Linked DNA regions of Homo sapiens: region 1 is linked to region 2. The links are contacts of gene promoters, found by promoter capture Hi-C in human tissues and cell types (Jung and others, 2019). All regions are on one chromosome and are shown on one strand. The core of a region is centred on a gene start or on the middle of the fragment in contact, and the rest is flanking DNA. Distances in the headings are between cores, read along the strand shown. Region 1 overlaps INAVA (innate immunity activator). Region 2 holds the start of TNNT2 (troponin T2, cardiac type).

Region 1 (3,991 bases), core at 479-2,978, 470 kb before region 2:
TCAATTGATGCACAGTTGATTCTCATTATCTGTGGTAGTTATGTTCTATAAAGTAAAATTGACGCAAATCCTGAATTAGCAAATACTGAACCCTTGCCCCTGGGGAAATATAGGGTTAGGTTCCCGTGAGCCTTTGGTCACGACATTTTGCATCAACTGATTAATATATAACCTTATGTTATGTGAGTTTCTGCTTAAGGACACCTTACTTAATATGGGTTGTTGATTCATTAACTCATGGCCAACAGCACTGTAACTCATACCCAGATGAAGCTTACCTAGCACACATATTTTCTCCACAAGGCACACCACAGCCTTTTCCCAGTATGCCTTAGGGAGGAACAGTAGACAGCACTTTGGCACTGTATTTGGGGGCATTTTAAACAGCAGAATCACTAATCAAAGCAAAAACACACACAGTACATAAATATGCCACAAAAAGGACACTGTGCACTTACAGCATGAGAACTGAAACATGAGGGCAGAACATGGCCTCGTTTAACCTCAGAACTTAAAGAGACTCAAATTTGTCACTTTTCTGCAGTGTCCAAGAATGACCATGAAAGCACTGTGTATATTGCTTTGGGGATTAAAAATAAAGTTTAGCAACTAGGAAAATTACAAATACTGAATCTGCAAATAATGAGAATTGACTGTATGTTACTTTCTAAGTCATCTGCTACTTGGTAATAGTTTAAATGGCTAAGCGTTGACAGGCAGTATTGGCCATACCATATGGGGACTGGGGCACCATGAAAGCACTGCTGAATTCTCCATCAGCTTAAATTGGCTGGTCAGGCAGCACTGAACTGGGGGCAGCTTGGGACAACTGCTCTCAAGTAAAGCAATGGATTTTGTTTAATTTTTAAATTTTTTTTGAGGCAGAGTCTTGCTCTGTCATCCAGCCTAGAGTATAGTGGCGCAATCTTTGCTCACTGCAACCTCCGCCTCTCAGGTTCAAGCGATTCTCCTGCCTCAGCCTCCTGAGTAGCTAGGATTACAGGCGTCCGCCACCACACAGCAATAGATTTTATATTTTACATGCTACGAGGGCCATTTTACAAACCATGCCTTTGTGCAAATTAGGAAAAGGCAGACACAGCCCCATACCTGGGTGCATTAGTAGAGTGAAGTGAAGGCTGGATTTCAGCCCCTGCCGGTCTTGGGCTGCAGGTAACTGCTCTGGGTACCACATGACAGCTTTTACACGTTCAAGTAAGGTACCTGGCAGTGCCTACCGAACAGATGCTGTGGATGATCTGCCACTGGACACGGTGTACCTAAGCTGAAAGTACTTAATGTAGTACTTTAAAAAAAGTAGTTAATGTAGTACTTTAAAAAAAGTAGTTAATGTAGTACTTTAAAAAAAGTACTTAATGTAGTACTTTAAAAAAGTACTTAATGTAGTACTTTAAAAAAAGTACTTAATGTAGTACTTTAAAAAAAGTACTTAATGTGCTACTTGATGTAGCACACTTTACACGAATCACAAGCTTGTGAATGCAGCAGGAACACTTTTGCACACAGGGAAGGAATGCGTTGGCACCCACGCAGCCCGGCAGAGGGTTTGTTGGTTTGCTTTGGGAGACTTGACCTAAGACCCTTGCACGAGGGCCATGCTTGGGCCTTGAGGTAGAGCAGGACTCACCTGTTTTAACTCCACCTCCCGCCCCAACCCCAGTGTGGAGTTTCTGCCCCCCACACTCAGAATGCCTCTCTTTCCCTCTTCAGGGTGGATTCCTTCCGGGCGGGTCCTGAGGGCCGAGGTCGCAGCGCCTTTCCCCGCCGCCGCCCCACTCACTACACGGTGACAGTGCCAGATTCCTGCTTTCCCGCGACCAAGCCCCCGCTGCCCCACGCCGCCTGCCACTCCTGCTCAGAAGACAGTGGCTCTGACGTCTCCAGCATCTCCCACCCCACTTCGCCGGGCAGCAGCAGCCCCGACATCTCCTTTCTGCAGCCTCTCTCCCCTCCCAAGACCCATCGTCACCGCGGGGCCTGGGTCCCAGCCGGCAGCAGAGAGCTGGTCGCCCACCACCCCAAGCTACTGCTGCCGCCTGGCTATTTCCCGGCGGGGCGGTACGTGGTGGTGGCTGAGAGCCCCCTGCCGCCTGGCGAGTGGGAGCTGCGCCGCGCAGCCCCGGGCCCTGCTTACGAGGAGGAGGGCACTCCCCTGCGCTACCAGCGTCTGGTGCCCTCCCGCAGCCGCATCGTGCGGACGCCCTCCCTGAAGGACAGCCCGGCAGGCCGGGGGCTCAGCAAGGCCGCCGTGTCCGAGGAGCTCAAGTGGTGGCACGAGCGTGCACGCCTCCGGAGCACCCGCCCCCACTCACTGGACCGCCAAGGAGCTTTCCGGGTCAGGAGCCTGCCCCTTGGGAGAGAGGGCTTCGGACGAGCCCTGGGACCCCGGGCACAGGTACGGCTGCTCTGGAGGGACCCCGGGGCCAGGCAGGAGGGCTGTTTTGTTGGGGAGGGGCTGCAATTCTAGTATGTCCAAGGGTACAGAGGCATCAAAGCAGCAACCTAGTGGCCGGGTAATCCCCGTCTAGGAAGAACAGGCCAAAAAATCATTTCCTCTTGGCTTTGGAAGGCACTCTTGGCTTCCCTGGGGCACCTCCTAATTTTGCCTGCCATGTCTAGCTCAAGAGCATATACACTGGTGGAGATGATCCCCGAAGATAGCTGAGACTTTTTCTCTCCCTAAATGATGATGCACAAAGCAGATAAGCCTCTTCATAATCAAAAGTCCAGTCCAAATCAGCCCCTCAGATTTCCATTTGAAGGTCTAGGACAAAGGGAGAGTAGGAAATGAGTTGCAGAAGCCAGAACCTGTGATTTTCTGGGCATCAGCATCCTCCCTGACACCCCTCCTCACCACCAAGCCGAGAAGAAGGGTGGCATCAGAGTTAAGAGCACCCACCCTCAAGCTAGACCACCAGGTTCAAATCCCAGTTCTGCCACTTACGAGCTGTATGATTGGGCAAGTTACTTAACCCCTTTGGACCTAGTGTTTCCTCCCCTGTGAAATGAGAGTAGTAGAGTACCTATCTCATAGGGCTGCCAAGAGGCTGAAATGATTAGAGCAATGCATGGTAAGCGCTAGATATGTGATATTATTATCATCTGGGGCCACAGAGGCCAGGGAGCAGGCTGGAGGGTAGTATATAGGATAGAGCACCCTGACACTGGGTAGGGTGGCAGCCTTGGTTTCCTTGGCCCCTATTTCTTCATTCTGGAAGTGGGGAGCCACACACAGGAATCCTTTCTTTATTCTTTCTCCCTGGTACGGAGGGCTCTGCAGGTGATGTGCTCCAGAAGTTACCAACAAGCTGCTTCTTTGAGACCCCAGATTCCCAGCAGACCCAGCTGCGTGTCCCTCCCCCACCCACGGTTCTTTGGACTGCAGCTGGCATCCTGGGCCTGGCAGCACCCTGGCCCCGGTCCGAGGCCGCGCCCTCCAGCTGACGTGCTTTTCCCTTTCTGCGCGCTTGGGCCTGTCCTTGGCTGGATAGACCCAGCCCATCCCAACGTGCCAGACAGGGAGGGTGATGAGAAGTGAGCCCAGGAAAGGTGGGGGAGGAGGAGGTCAGGGCGCCTGTCACACCCCAAAAGAACATGGAGGAAAATGTGTAAAGGGGGTCCCTGAAGAACAGAGAGCATCCTGGGAGGAAGGGGCTGAGTGCCAGGGCCTGCTGCTGCTGCTGCTTCTGCTGGTCAGTGTCCCTAAGGGATAAGGATGGTGTAACTGTGCCTGCTGTCCCCGCTTTTCTGCCTGGTTCATTTACCCACCTGTCCTTTCTTCCTGACCCTGGCAGGTGCCCACAGTTTGTGTGCTGCGGAGATCGCCTGATGGGGCCCCTGTGCAAGTCTTTGTACCTGAAAAAGGAGAGATCATCAGCCAGGTGTAACTCTGCGCCCCACGCTGGAAAAAACTGTTTCATAGAGGGGCTGGGCTGAGACCCCCCCACCCCTGAGTGCCTCTTTCAGCTCC
Region 2 (3,969 bases), core at 813-3,312:
CCTAGGATGGGTGGGGCTGACAATTGTTACCCAAAGCCCCAGGGGAGCGGCCAGAACTAGTGACTTGAGAACTTGAGGAGCTCCTACCTGAGCCCCAGGAGAAGCTTGTCCCTCAGTGGGAGGGAGAAAATTCTCAGAGGAACCGTGCATGGCCAGCCTGGGCGCATAGCTTCTAGCTTTCTCTCTCCTCTCCTACTCTGCCCTTCCACCAGTTCAGAGCCACTGGGCATGGTGCTGGGGCCTCACAGGAGGACAGAGCAGCTTGGACTCCTCTCCCTGTTCCTGGGGGCACCATCCAGCTCCCAAAAATAGCATGCAGACATGCAGGATGGAGGAGGGCTTTCAGCCAGCCCAGAGGACACCACCATGCCAGTGGCTCAAAGGCAGGACCTGATGCAGGGGAAAGAGGTGGGCTGAGACTGGGGGCTGCAGAATGGGAGAGAGTCAAGAACCTGGCAGGGCAAGGAACCAGAATGTCCTGAAACACCTGTGTCCTCACACCCAAGTCCCACCCACTTCCACAGGCAGCTTTCTAGCCTAATGCATTCATAGCCAACACGTGTTGGAAGCCTAACACGTTCACAGGGTCACCTTTCTTGGGGAGTAAAGCAAAGACAATAGAAGGCATAAGGCATACTGACCTTGGGGTCAAAAAATCTGGGCTTAAAACCCAGATTTTGCTGTGTGGCCTTATTTAAGTCACCTAGCCTCTCTGACTTCAGTTAACCAACTACAAAGCAGGAGAGCCTTGAGTTCTGTCCCTGTAGAAACAGTCTCCGAGTTTCTGAGAAACACAGGCCCCACCCCTCAGTCCTTGTCCCCAGCACTCGAATGGGATTTTCCTAAGCCAACAGCTGTTAGCCCACCAGGAGAGCGGGGGTAAGGGGATGGGGAGAGGGCAGGAAGAGTGGAAGTGGGGGTCAGAAATAGGAGGCAGCCAGCAACCTGATCCTCTCAGATTCCACTTTTGCAGAGAGAAGGAAGATTCGCCCTCTAAGACATGGGTCAGAAAAGGAATTTGGGAGGGCAGGTAGCTTCCCGGCTACAGCAGGCCAGGAATGTGCTCTGAAATTCCTTACACACCAGGCAACCCCCTCCCTGAATAGTCCTCAGCCTGCCCAGGAGAAACTAGAAACCAAGGGAATCTTTCTCTACCACTCCTGGGCACAGAGCAAGGCTTGTCCCAAGATGGGGTGTTGGGGTGGGATGGGACAAGGGTTACACTTACGGGGGCCCAGGTTAAACCCTTTAATGCCAACCAGCTGGGCTCACACCCAAGGACAGGTTCTCCCAGTGGGGCCTTTCCCCATCTGCCCCCCAAGTGCAGCTCAGCTCAGGGTCTGGGAGCTCAGCTCAGCTCTGGGAGGGAATGGCACTGAGTCAGCGGCATCAAATGGAATTCCCGCGTTGGCCTGGAGAGGCGCTGCAGAGGACCCTGCACATCTGGTCGTTCTCAGTACTTCCAGGACAGTTTCTGAGTTCCTAGCCTTGAGAATATGACCAGGAGACTCACTTGACTGACAGGGCTGCAGTCTCGCTCTGCTCCCTGGGACTCAAGAAGGACCTGACTGGAAAGGTATAGGTGACCCTCGGCCTGGAACAAGCAATTTAGGGGAGTCTCTGTTGGTTAGAGCCTCATTGTATTTAGAGCAGGCAGAGGCCTAGCAAATATTTAGCCCACTCTACAGATGAGAAAACTGAGGCCTGGGGAGGGAAAGTGACTCATCCAAGAGTTTAAACTCTACATCTTTAGTGGCAGGTCCAGGACTCCAACCCTAGTCTCCAATGGCTACCATGGGATTCTCTCTTTCTCTCTGCTCTATTGTACCAATCTTGGAGCCCAGACCTGGCAACCTGTCCTCTGAAGTGTGGCCTCCACCAGGAGGGGCCATGGACTTCTGCGGACACAGGCAGACTCTGGGTAAATATGCCAGGGCCCAAGACCCTCACATCTCCCCGTCCATTCTCTGCTCTCCTCTTCCCCAGAGCCCTGCCCGAGCCTTACCTCAGAACAGCAGCTGCCGACAGATCCTGGAGGCGTCTGCTCAGTCTCAGCGGGGACTGGGTGAGGCAGAGGATGGAGAGGGCTTTAAGCAGGCATGTGGGCTGGGGCCTGGTGAGCCAGCCCTGCGGAGGGAGGAATGTGCGACAGGGGACGGGTGGGGCAGGGGGATGGCGGTGGGGGTGGGGGGTGTTGGCTGCTATTTTGGCAGGTGCCAGGGACAAGGCTACAGGAACATGTACCCCACGCCATATAAGCCCATGTGGTCCTCCAGCTGCTCAGATAAGCTATTTAAAACCAGAGCAGATATGCAGGGAACAGTCATGCAACATAAACCAGCTGTCCCTCTTGAGAATCCTGATAAAGCAGAGGCCAGCAACCCAGGCCTGGGAGGGCCAGCTGGGAGCAGGGTTGGGGGGCAGAAGGCAACCTCCAAGACACTCCATAAGTCTCAGCACCAGAATCTTGGAAGGCAGAGGGCAAGAGTTATGTGCTGCTCCACTTGAACTGATGCTGGGGGTAAAGACATCTTCCAGGCTACTGGCTCCTAATGGACTGAGCAGCCTTAGGCAGGTTGCCGGCTCTGCCAGCCCCAGTGAGGACATCTGCAAGGTGGGTCTTCTCCATGACCCCCAAAGCCATGTGGCACACCCTCCTCACAGGGAATGGACTGAAACTGCTACAGGAGGCCAGATACAAGGTAGAACTTCCAGTCAAGAACCTTGAACAGGCGCTCGTTGTGTGAGAGGGGTGATGCGGACTGTCAAAGGTCATCCCCTAACGGCTTTAAAATCAAGCAGTGCGGGGCTATGATCTGCTAAACCTACTAGATTGCAGATGCATAGGTCAGGCCTAGGGGTCTTGCTTGCTTGCCTGTGTCTGACCATGCACATGCACTTGTATGTTCAAGGCTGGCCCATTGCAGGGTTTGGTAGATTATGAAAATGAAAGAGACAGGAGGAAAGCAAGCCAGTAAGCAGCTGAGCTGACTCTCCCCTCCATCTCTTTCTCCGAATCTTCACAGCCTAGGTCCTGCTTGGCTCTGAAGCAGGAATGGTCCTCCTCTGGAGCAGGCCCTCCCCTCCTCCATGACCCCCCCTGGCACTTAAAGATCTTGCCCATTCATGATCCACACTCCTCTGTTTCTCCGTGGGCAAAGAAAGCAATCTCGCTATTCTCTGCCCCCTTCTCCCATCACCCAATCATGTGTCCCGCCTTCCCAGTCCTCAAACTCTTCTCTCAATCCCTCTGCCTTGGGAGCTACTATGCTGCCTCCACCACTAATGTCCTTGAAAGGGTCCTCTGCGCAGGGGACTGCCATTTGCTCCACACCCATGCTGCTGTCAGACTCTTGTCCCATCACTCAGCTGACTCCATCCCCTCCATAGTTCCCTGTGGCCTCTGAGTCCAGTGGCCTTGATTGCCCTGCCACGTGGGCCTCCACACTGCCAGCACATCTGTGGCAGGGCAAGCTGAAGCCAACCGCCCGCTGGCCAGCATTGTGGGACTGAGGACCACCACAGGGAAGCAGGGGCACTTTGTAGAGAGACAGGCAGATGGAGGGGACAGATTCCCGAGGGATAGTGAGGAAGGAGTCAGGCTGTCAAGAAAGTGGGGGGAGCCCCATCATCTCTCTCTCCCATTCTAGCCCACGAAGCAGGGCCCAGCCTTGCCTTGGGTCCTGGCCTGGAGTAACGTAGAATTCGGAATTACTTTTCCCAAACCCTTTTTTAACTTGAGGGTGGGTTACTGTTCCTTGTAAGCCCAATAACCTTTCAAACAGACCACGGTTTATTTGCATGGATGCCTAGAAGAGGGATCTGGGCACCTAGGTCACTACTGAGCCCCATGGGAAAAGCCCAGTAGATCCTTGGTGTCACAGGCCACACGTGTATGGCTTCGAATTGTTCTAAGGCAGGAGCTTCGTTCAGAGCGCTGTGAGACAGCCTCTCAGATAAGGAAATCCA

What was found. The method cuts DNA at HindIII sites, captures the fragments that hold promoters and counts their contacts. A contact is called where the count stands out against the background at its distance.
Region 1: a fragment that was not itself captured here is called in contact with the fragment with the promoter of TNNT2 in region 2 in 1 of the 25 tissues and cell types used here (pancreas).

The regions. Positions count from the first base shown.
Region 1 is chr1:200,909,722-200,913,712 of GRCh38, forward strand. It overlaps INAVA (innate immunity activator), which reads left to right. Exons shown (of 10, transcript NM_001142569.3): 9 at 1,732-2,416; 10 at 3,816-3,991. The coding sequence ends at 3,908. Among named protein-coding and RNA genes, the nearest start is that of INAVA, 17 kb to the left of the region's middle. The HindIII fragment of the contact is 7,621 bases long and covers 1-3,991 here.
Region 2 is chr1:201,375,618-201,379,586 of GRCh38, forward strand. It overlaps TNNT2 (troponin T2, cardiac type), which reads right to left and starts at 2,063. Exons shown (of 17, transcript NM_001276345.2): 1 at 2,006-2,063. RefSeq lists enhancers at 593-1,089, 1,494-2,031, 2,032-2,569, 3,906-3,969. The HindIII fragment of the contact is 17,386 bases long and covers 1-3,969 here.